Linked DNA regions of Homo sapiens: region 1 is linked to region 2. Evidence: promoter capture Hi-C in human tissues and cell types (Jung and others, 2019). All regions are on one chromosome and are shown on one strand. The core of a region is centred on a gene start or on the middle of the fragment in contact, and the rest is flanking DNA. Distances in the headings are between cores, read along the strand shown. Region 1 has its middle 6.1 kb from the start of SPOCD1. Region 2 holds the start of PEF1 (penta-EF-hand domain containing 1).

What was found. The method cuts DNA at HindIII sites, captures the fragments that hold promoters and counts their contacts. A contact is called where the count stands out against the background at its distance.
Region 1: a contact is called between a fragment that was not itself captured here and the fragment with the promoter of PEF1 in region 2, in 1 of the 25 tissues and cell types used here (dorsolateral prefrontal cortex).

What each region holds. Positions count from the first base shown.
Region 1 is chr1:31,819,221-31,824,933 of GRCh38, forward strand. No RefSeq gene overlaps it. Among named protein-coding and RNA genes, the nearest start is that of SPOCD1, 6.1 kb to the left of the region's middle. The HindIII fragment of the contact is 7,212 bases long and covers 538-5,713 here.
Region 2 is chr1:31,641,127-31,646,788 of GRCh38, forward strand. PEF1 (penta-EF-hand domain containing 1) reads right to left here and starts at 3,750. Exons shown (of 5, transcript NM_012392.4): 1 at 3,715-3,750. The coding sequence starts at 3,738. PEF1-AS1 (PEF1 and COL16A1 antisense RNA 1) reads left to right here and starts at 3,010. Exons shown (of 6, transcript NR_184313.1): 1 at 3,010-3,170; 2 at 3,586-3,720. RefSeq lists enhancers at 3,480-4,250, 3,570-3,639, 3,880-4,219. The HindIII fragment of the contact is 9,809 bases long and covers 1-5,662 here.

The DNA of each region.
Region 1 (5,713 bases), core at 2,894-5,393, 180 kb after region 2:
TGTGAGCCACTGGGCCCAGCCTTTCTCCTGGTATTCTAAAATGTCTCTGTCATAAAAAAAAAATAAAGTAAGGTTTTGCCCAGGTTTTGGCCTAATGCTATTTGCCTCATCATTAGCTGTTTGCTCCATTGACTCATGACAGCACCTCTGCGATATACCTGGTTCCCATTAAAGAATGCAATTTATTTCTTGGCTTTCCTTTTTTTTTTTTTTTTTTTTTGAGATGGAGTTTCTCTCTCATTGCCCAGGCTGGAGTGCAGTAGCAGGATCTTGGTTCACTGCAACCTTCGCCTCCTGGGTTCAAACGATTCCCCTGCCTCAACCTCCCAAGTAGCTGGGATTACAGGTATCCACCACCATGCCCGGCTGATTTTTTGTATTATTAGTAGAGATGAGGTTTCACCATGTTGGCCAGGCTGGTCTCAAACTCCTGACCTCAGGTGATCCACCTGCCTCGGCCTCCCAAAGTGCGTGAACCACCACACCTGGCCTATTTATTGGCTTTCTTTTCTCTTCCATTGATCGATTTGTCTATTCTTGATCAATATTGTTTTAGTTCTATGGTTTTGTGATAAATATTGCTATCTAGGGAGCAAGCTCCACCCCCTCAACTTGGTTTCTATTTTTTATAATCGTCTTAGCTAACTGTATACCGTAGAATCATTTTGTCAAGATCCTTGAAAAATTGTGCTGGGATTTAAATTAGAATTTCATCGAATTTACAGATTAGGGATAAAATTGAATAATACTGAGTCTTCTCATCCATAAATGTACCTTATTTCCATTCTGCCAGGCCTTCAATTCATTTTTGTGATTTTTCTTCATCAAAATATTGCACATTTTAATTAAATTATTCTATTCTTTAATATTTTTATTGCGTTTTCTTTTTTCTTTCTTTTTTTTCTTTCTTTTTTTTTTGTTGAGATAAGGTCTCGCTTTGTGTACAGGCCGAAGTGCAGTGATATGATCACCTGGGCTCAGATGATTCTCCCACCTCAGCCTCCTGAGTAGCTGGGACTACAGGTGCCTACCACCATGTCTGACTAAATTTTTGGTTTTTTGTAGAAACGGCATCTTGCTATGTTGCTCAGGCTGGTCTCAAACTCCTGGACTCAAGCAATCCTCCCACCTCGGCTTCCCAAAGTGCTGGGATTGCAGACATGAGCCACCATGCTGGAGGCGGTGACTCACGCCTGTAATCCCAACACTTCGAGAGGCCTGGGCGGCAGATCACCTGAGCCCAGGAATTCGAGCCAGTCTGGACAACATGGTGAAGCCCTGTCTCTACAAAAAATACAAAATTATCCAGGAGTGGTGGCATGTCCCATACTCCCTGTAGTCCCAGTTATTGGGAGGCTAAGGTGGGAGGATGGTTTGAGCCCAGGAGATGGAGGCTGCAGTGAGCCAAGATTGTGCCACTGCACTCCAGCCTAAGTGACAGAGTGAGACCCTGTTGCAAAGATATTAATAGTATTCTCATGATTCAAAAATCTCTATTGTATTGATTACAGTCCCCTTTTAATTCCTAATACTATTTATTTGTGCTTGCTCTCTCTCAGTCATCCTAGGGTTTTTTGGTAAATCAGATTTTTGCTTTTTTATCTCTGTTTTTTATGATGTTGTTATTATATTTTCTATTTCACCATCTTCTGGTTTTACCTTTCTTATTTACTTTCTTCTATTTCCTTTGGTTTACTCTTGTTCTTTCATTTTTTTTTTAAGAAACAGGGTCTTGCTCTGTTGCCCAGGCCGAAGTGCAGTGGTGTGATCATAGCTCACTGCAGCCTTAAATGCCTACTAATTGGCCTCAAGCTAATTTTTAAAATTAGTTTAAATTATTTTGGAGAGATAGAGTCTCACTATGTTGCCCAGGCTGGTCTCAAACTTGTGGCCTAAAGTGACCCACTCCCAACACTTTGGGAGGCCAAGGTGGGAGGATCACTTGCACCCAGGAGTTTGAGACAAGCCAGACAACACAGTGAGACCTTGTCTCTATAAAAAATACAAAAATTAGCCAGACATGGTGGTGCATGCGTGTATTCCCAGCCTAGAGACAGGGTGTCTAGGGAAACAAAGTATTAGTGCCTAACATTTCTATTTTTTGTGAAGATGAAGTCTCTCTATGTTGCCCAGGCTGGTCTTGAATTCCAGGGCTCAAGCAATCCTCCTGCCTCAGCCTCCCAAAGCACTGGGATTACAAGCATAAGCCATCACACCCGGTGGCTACCTGTTATTATTAAAAATAAATGTAGTTTCAGGCCAGACATGGTGGCTCATGCTTGTAATCCCAGCACTTTGGGAAGCCAAGATAGGAGGATCACTTGAGGCCAGGAGTTCAAGACCAGCCTGGTCAACATAGTGAGACCCCCATCTCTAACTGAAAATAAATAAATCATACATAAATAAATGTTTCAGCCAGGCATGATGATGAACGTGTATAATCCCAGCTACTCTGGTGGCTGAGGCTGGAGGATCCCTTGAGCTCAGGAGTTTGAGACCAGCCTAGGCAACATAGCGAGACCGTCTCTCTATTGAAAAGAAAATGAAAATATACTTTTACTGCATTGTGATCAGTTAAAATTGTCTACATAATGTTGCTTTTTTTTTTAAGTTTTTAAGATTTCCTTTGTGATCTGATATACTGTCATTGTTAATATTCATTGTATGCTTGAAAAATGATTGAAATTCTCAGTTTAATAGTTTAAGCTTTTCCTTTTTTTTTCTTTTTCTTTTCTTTTTTTCTTTTTTTTGAGATAGAGTCTTGCTCTGTCACCCAGGCTGGAGTACAGTGGTGCAATCTCGGCTCACTGCAACCTCCACCTCCCAGTTCAAGCAATTCTCCTGCCTCAGCCTCCCGAGTAGCTGGCATTACAGGCACCCGCCACCGTGCCCGGCTAATTGTTGTATTTTTAGTAGAGACGGGGGTTTCACTGTGTTGGCCAGGCTGGTCTCGAACTCCTGACCTCATGATCCACTCACCTCGGCCTCCCAAAGTGCTAGGATTACAGGTGTGAGCCACGGCACCTGGCCAACAGTTTAAGCTTTTCTTACCTCAAGCTTTTTACTCATGTTTTTCAAATCCATAGTAATCTATAGTAACTTGAATCTACAGAAATCAGTGTTCAATGCAGAAAACAAAAACTACTCTAGATATTTTAAGCACAATGAGGTTTAATACAGGGCACTGGGTGTTTCAAAAGTCACTGGGAGGCCAGGCACAGTGGCTCACGCCTGTAATCCCAGCACTTTGGGAGGCCGAGGCGGGTGGACTGCTTGAGCTTAGAGGAGTTCAAAACCAGCCCAGGCAACATGGCAAAACCCCATCTCTACAAAAAGTACAAAAATTAGCCGGATGTGGTGGCGCATCCCTGTAGTCCCAGCTACTTAGAAGGCTGAGGTAGGAGGATGGCTTGAGCCCAGGAGGCAGAGGTTGTAGAGAGCCGAGATCGCACCACTGAACTCCAGCCTGGGTGACAGAGCCAGACCCTATCTAAAAAATGAAAAAAAAAAAAAAAAAGTCACTGGCAGGCTATAGGAGTGGACCCGAGGCTGGGCCTAGAACACACATTAGAACTGTATTTATAAATACACTGCTAGGGTAACAATACAAAGGTCTAATACAGGCACTGCCACTGCTGCTTCTACTGCCCACATACACAACACTAGGGGCCAGACATTGATGCGGGCAAACTCGATAGCTCCACAGTTGTGCTTGGAAGCAGTAACAGCCCACGGAAAAGGACAATGGTCTTGGCCTCTCATCTGCTTTTCAGATCTTGCACAATAGCAGTAAGTGTTGGAAAATAATTCACATCTGAAACACTCATTGTAAGGGAATCTGTGAAAGAGTTTTGGCTTTCTATCCTCTACAGGAAGGCATACTAGGATGTGGAGGATTGCTTGAGCCCAGGAGTTCAAGGCTTCTGTGAGCTATGATAGCACCACTGCACTCCAACCTGGGTAACAGAGTGAGGCCCTGTCTCTAAAAAAAACTTTTAAATAAAATTTTAAAAAATCGGCTGGGCACAGTGGCTCACGCCTGGAATCCCAGCACTTTGGTAGGCCAAGACAGGCAGATCACTTGAGGTCAGGAGTTCGAGACCATCCTGGCTAATGTGGCGAAAACCTGTCTCTACTAAAAATACAAAAATTAGCTGGGCATGGTGGCAGGCACCTGTAATCCCAGCTACTCGGGAGGCTGAGGCAGGAGAATCGCTTAAACCCGGGAGGCAGAGGTTACAGTGAACCAAGGTTGTGCCACTGCACTCCAGCCTGGGCAACAGAGCGAGACTCCATCTCAAAAAAAAAAATGTTTTAAATCTCACACAATTATTACGAACGTGTCAATTTTTTCCCTTTACCTCTGTAAGTTCCTGCTTTATATATATTTAAAAACACTTTTTTAGGAGCATGCAAATTCATAAATTTTTACATCTTTTTTGGAGATTATAACTTTCATCAGTGCCAAATGTGCCTTTTCTTCCTATTAATGTTCTTCTGCTTTAATTCAGTTTTTCTGATATTAATATTGGTAACTGCTTCCTTGTGGTAGTATTTAGCTAATATAGTTTTGTGGGGTTTTTTGTTTTTTTTTTGTTTTTCAGAGACAGGGTCATGCTGTGTCACCTAGCTTAAGTGCAGTGGCATGATTACAGCTCACTGCAGCCTCTAACTCTTGGGCTCAAGTGACCTCCTGGGCTCAAGTGATCCTCCTGCCTCAGTCTCTCAAAGTGCTGGGAATTCAGGTATGAGCCACTGCACCCTGCTCATTATTCATTTTTTACAGAGGAGGAAAGGTGGGCTTCAAATCCATGACTTGCTAGGGATTGCTCCGCTGGAGATAAGCGGAACTATGTCCAACCTCAAGTCCAGCTCCATCCAAAGTCCCTCCGCCAGACTGTATTCCCACAAGGGCGAGAACCAGACTGGGTCTGCCTTGTTGGCCAGCTCATTCACAGGGCCTAAGGTGGTGCCTGTCGTTTAATATGAAAACACACCCAGAGGCAGTCAGAGAGGGAGGAAGAACACAATGGCACGACTTCGAGGAAGCCAAGGAAAGACTGTTTGGGGGTTTGTGGATTTTTTTTCCCTGATAAATTATTTATTTTGGAATAATTTTAGACTTACAAAAAAGTTACAAAAATATAAGAAGTTCCATCTACCCCTCACCTATTTTCTGTCATTGTTAACATCTTCTATTACTGTGGTCTCTGCGTAAACTAAGAAACCAACATTGGTACATTACTATTAACTAAACTCCAACTTTATGTGGATTCCACCAGTTTTCCCCTTCAGGTCCTCTGTCTGTTCCAGGCTCCCGTGCGGGCTACCACGTTGCATTAGCTACCATGCCCTTAGTCTCCTCTGATCTGTGACAGTTTCTCAGTCATTCCTTGTTTTTCATGACCTTGACAGTTTTGAGGAGTAATCGTCAGGTATTTTGTAGAGTGTTTCTTAATTTGGATTTCCCTGATGCTTTTCTCCAGATTAAACTGGTCTCAGGGGTTTTGGAAAGAATGCCGCACAGGGAAAATGCCTTCTCACATCAGAGGAGGGGGTGCGTGGTAGCCACAGGTGATATTAACCTCCACCGCTTGGTAGAAAGTGCTTTCCAGACTTCTCCACTGCCAAATTACTACTTTAAGAATTTTAAAGGCTGGAGACAGTGGCTCACGCCTATAATCCCAACACTTTGGGAGGCTGAGGCGGGCAG
Region 2 (5,662 bases), core at 2,500-4,999:
ACAGACCCACATATCCAGCAGCCTACTGGACCTTCCCTCCAAACCCATGCCTCCCTGTGTTCTCATCTCAGTGAATGGAGCTCCGTTCTGCTTAATCATCCAAACCTAAGGCCAAGTTTTCTCAAATCTACCTCCCAAGTGCTTCTCAAATCTCCTCTACCAGGTCACAGTTCTCTTTAGCCTAGATTACCTCAATAGCGTCAAAACCGGTATCCCTGCCTCCTGTCTCTCCTGCTTCAATCCATTCTCACAGCACCCCACAGTAAGCACTCCAAAGCACAAATGGGACAAAACACTTCACTGGCTCCCTCACTACTCTTAGGATGAAGTCACACTCCCCAAAAAGGCATACAAGGCCCTTTGGGATCTGGCCCTTGCTTACCTTTCTAGTCTTATTTCCTACCCCTTTCCCCCACATCACTACAACTACACTGAACTTCTTAAAGTTCCTCCAAAATACTAGGCTGTCTTACCTGCTTCATGGGCTTTGTGCAGCTATTTCCTCTGCTGGAATAGCATTCCTTTCTTCACTCAGCTAATTTCTACCAGTGATTCAGTTGTTGGCTTAAATATCACCTCTTTTAAAAATGCACCCCTAGACTGAGTTAGGTATCTCACTCTCCCGTGCTGTACCTTACACTTACTCCCATTGAATACTTATCACATTGCCTCTTCAATCTGCATAACTGCATTACTCCTCCACTTGGAGTATTCTACATGCCCAACACCATACCTAGCACTTTACGTGGATTTTCTCATTTAATCTTTAGAGTAATTCTGAGGTAGATACTATTATGACCCCATTCTAAAGAAGGGAAAACTAGTCCAGGCGTGGTGGCTCACGCCTGTAATCCCAACACTGTGGGAGGCTGAGGCAGGTGGATCACCTGAGGTTAGGAGTTTGAGACCAGCCTGGCCAACATGGCGAAACCCCGTCTCTACTAAAAATACAAAAAATTAGCCAGGTGTGGTGGCGTGCGCCTGTAATTCCAGCTACTTGGGAGGCTGAGGCAGGAGAACTGCTTGAACCCGGGAGACGGAGGTTGCAGTGAGCCAAGATTGTGCCATTGCACTCCAGCCTGGGCGACAGAGCAAGACTCTGTCTTAAAAATAAACAAATAAATAAAAAATTTTTTTCAAAAAAGGGAAAACTGAGTCTCAGACTTTTGCAACAAACTTCTGCAAGGGAGTGACAAAGCAGGGATTTGAAATCAACTCTCTCTGGCCTCAAAAACTAAGCTCTTAAGCACTGAAATCCACCAAGCTCGTTCCCCCATAGGACCAAAGGGTGCTTGAATTTTACTACTCCAATACCCAGTCCCTGCTTGGGTACCCTGGACTGGAAGCAGTGGAAAATTACAGGAATTCTGACTCCTAACAATAGGCTGGAATCCTCCAAAGCTATGTAGTGGGTGGAGGGGAGGCAGCACTGACTGAGATGCTTTAAAACAACTCGTTTCCTTTCTTAGAACACCTGAGACCAGGAGGCGGACAAGGGTATGGTAGGAAAAAAAAACAACATTTCTTTTTCTATTCCAGACTCTTCTCTCTGTGCTCCTTTTCAGTATTTCACTCCAGGAATAGCCCAGGCAGCATGGCATCATGAGAGCAGTCACGGCAGCAAGAGCTGCCACCAGACACTGGCATGTACTAGGCACTAGCAACACGCCAGGCTCCCTGCATTTTAACCTCATTTTAGCCCTTTTCACAGGTATTATTTCTCCCTTTATACAGGTGAGGAAGCTGAGGCTCAGAGCCCTTAGTTTGTCCAGGGGTATATAACTATTAAGTAATACAGCTAGAATTCTAGCACAGTTCTCTCTAACCTGTCACTGCTTTTAGGATGCACACCAATTGTCCCTAATGCTTATTAGCATGTAGATTCCTGGGTACAGAACAGGTCTGAAGTGGGACCCAAAAGTGTGCTTTCTTAAACAAGCTCTCAGCTGATTCTGAGGCAGAAGACCAGCCACTGGGAAACAAGGCGCTATGAATGTTTTTTCAGCCTGTGTTCCTCAGAAATACTAGAGTCAAAAAAGTGACCAGACATCTGAAAAGAAAGCCGGGAGGCGGAGTTTCTATGGTTAGATATGTTTAAGAAATACTGCATATTATATTCCTTTCTGGATGATTTACAATGTACATTAGCAAATTAAGGATTCTGAAATAGCTTGTGGTCAATAAACTTATTCAGCTATACTTAAGAGTATTTCCAAAACTTTAGTTAACTACAGAATCCTCCTATATTAACAATATCTATTAAAACCTCCCAAGACTCAGCAAATGGAATGGACTTTAGGAAGCAACTGCTATGCTACACTTCCTAACTCCAGCCCGCACTGGCCTCTCTCTTTCCTACCTCTCTCTAAGGATGCAATAAGAGAAGTCCTAAGCTCTGGTCATGGCCTCACCCTCACTTACTACGTGTGACTTTTGGGAAGCCACTTAACCTCTTTGGGTTTGCTCCTCAGCAGTTAATTAGGGGTAATAATACCTGCATGCCGATAGGGACTTCATGATTAGGATAATGGAGGTCCAAACACTGTGTAACCCGCACAAGACTGCACTCCCTGGAAGGACTGTTACATCTTTTGGCCTGTGACTAAACTCAGTTGAGCACTGTGTAATATACCAATTGATCTTGTTTTCCCACATTTCGTTTATGGATTTCATCTCCTAAATAACTGTGTGATCGCAGCCCTCTGTGGGCTTCATTTCCTCCTCTGTAAAATGAGGGCTCTATTTTGAGGACCCTCCGGGCACTGGCCTTTTAGAAGTCTACTAAAAATCAAAATGCTAAAGGGCAACACATGTTACACCTCACTATGTACCAAACGCTTCGTAAGCATCACCTCCTGACTCTCCACAACAGCTTTATGAGGCAGATCCTATTATTCGGCCCTATTTTACAGGCGGAAACTTGGACTCAGAAAGGCAAAACAGCTTGCTCAAGGGCTCACAACTATTTAGGTGGTAGAGCTAAGATATGAACCTACCTCTGACACCAAAGTGCACTTCAACACCCTACTATCACCCAACAAAGAATTCTGGCCACAGAATCACCTTGCTGCGGTATTCCTGACTGAATCAAGATACGCTGGGGAAGAGGCATCTGAAGATAGCCCGGGTTCTGACCTCGGCCCTGCTGCCTAACTGCCTGGTGACTTCAGGTAAGTTCTGTGTCTTCTCGGGGTTCACTTTTCTACACGCGAAATGGCGGTGTTGAACTAAGTCAGTGGTCAAACCAGCTCACTTGTGGCGCCTGCTACAACCAGAGTTTCCTGATGACTCTGATGCAGTGTGGGGTGGGTCCGGAAGCCTGGATTTTTATCCGACGCCCCAAATGAGATCGGCGGAACCAGAACTCTAAACCTCCGGTCATGGCTGATGCCCCCGCCCAAGGCCCCCATGAGGGCCTTGGGAGGCTGTGGAGCCCAGGCCAGCGCCAGCCTGGACCTGTGGGGTCCAAGGTCCCCAAATCCTCGAGTGAGCGACGTCAAGGGGGCGCGACACGACCTCGCGAATGTGCGGTCCTTCATGACGTGAGCAGGGCGCGACCGACGGTCCCTTTTCGGTTCTCTACAGCGCAAGGCCTCGCTGAAGCGAACCCATCGTGGGAAGGGCGCGGAGAAAGCGGGGAGAAAGAGCAGGGGGACGTCGGGCCTGCGCCTGGCACCGCCGCTACCTGGATTCGCGGGCCCCTCACACACTCACCTGCCGGTAAGGATAGCTGGCCATGGTGATTCTGACGTCACACTCAGGCAAGGGGTGGGGCTTTCCGCTCTCAAACCCGCCCCTCGTCTCGGCTTTGGGGCTGGGCCCGCATCTGATTGGACGTCCGCGCCTGTCAATCTTGGGTGCTGTCGGCCGACGGAAGTGACGATGGGGGCGGTGGGCGGATGCCTACCCGAGAGACCAGGGGAGCTAAGTGATTGATGGAGCTTCCGGAAGTCTTGGCGGCTGTACCAGCGCTAATGTTCCTCCTTTTCCTGAGGTGGAGTGGGCCGAAGAGGTGGTCAGGTTGGGAAATTTAGTGAGAAGCCTGGGTGGGGTGTTGCTGCGGTAGCCATGTTATAACCTGGCAAATGGGACGCATGATAGTGACGTAATTGCTGGAGTAGCTCCTGAGTTTCCGCAGATGAGCCGCGGGAAAGGAGACGAGGGGCGGTGGCCAGGCGGTTGCCCTGACAACGGGGAACCGACCGACTCTTCCCGGTAGGGAGAGGCGATGGCGGAATTACTCCTCTAATGTCAAGGTACTGGGTACCAGTTAGTACCCTTGTAGTGGGATACAGATCTGTGGTCTTTGGAGAAAAAAACCCCAGATCATTAGAGTTGGAGGAAAATTGAATTATCTAGTGCCTCTTTCTTCATAAATGGGGAAACTGAGGTGCAGAGAGGCAGTTGCCTTGCCCTAGCTCACAGTGGGTCGCCTAGAACCGGGGTCAATGGATGTCCAGTTCTCAGCAGGGAGGTCTAGGTCGGTCCCCATCGTAGGTCAAATCCTGGTGACCGAGTGATCTCAGCACCATGTACTTGCCACTCAGTGGTTCCGTTTCTACACTTATTTGTGTGCTTATTTGATTTCTTTGTCAAGTTCTTTCATGTGGGCTAGGGTTTTGTCTGTTTTTGCTTGTCATTATAACTCCAGTACCTAGTATAGCGACTGACACGATTATTAAAATAAATGAATAAATGAATGTTACGAACTGTTATCCAGTCTAGTCCATCTATCTAACCAAGTGCACTTTCCAAAATCACAGTGCTGATCATGCCACTTGCCCACTACACAGCCTACAATGGATGCTCTTCATCCACGCCTACAAAATAAGGCCCAATCTCTTCATTCTGGTACTCCAGGCCCTTCAGAATCTGGCCCAGCCTCAACTTTCCAATCTTACGGCCCCTTCTGCTACTCTGTATTTCTGTGCTCAGTTCCACCATTCAGCACTTCTGCTTTGGAGGGAGGATCTTTGTTTTATCACTTTCTAACTGTATCACCTTAGGCAGGTTTTTTGTTTGTTTGTTTTTAATTTCCAACTTTTAAGATCAGGGGTATATGAGCAGGATGTGGTTTGTTACATAGGTAAATGTGTGCCATGGTGGTTTGTCGCACACATCATCCCATCACCCAAGTGTTAAGCCCAGCATCCATTAGCTATTCTTCCTGATGCTCTCCCTCTTCCCACCTCCCTCTACGCTCCGACAGACCCCAGTGGTGTATGTGCTCTCCTCATTCAGCTCCCACTTATAAGTGGTAACATGCGGTGTTTGGTTTTCTGTTTCTCTGTTAGTTTGCTGAGGATAATGGCTTCCAATTCCATCCACGTCCCTGCAAAGGACATGATCTTGTTCCTTTTTTATGGCTGCATAGTATTCCACAGTGTATATCTACCACATTTTATTTAGGCAAGTTATTTAACCTCTCTAAATTTCACTTTTCTTAGCTGACAGGAACAAATGTGTAAATTTGAAAATGAGCTTATTATACCTGCTCATGCCCCAAACTTAGGTTCAAACCACTCCTTTCACCTGGACCAGCAGCCCTCCCAACTCCAGTCCTGCAAGGCTCAGTTCCAATTCCATTCTCCACCTAACCCTCCCACATTCCCCTTAGCTCCAGAGTTAGCCACTCTCTCTTGCCACTCCCCCTTTGCACTTG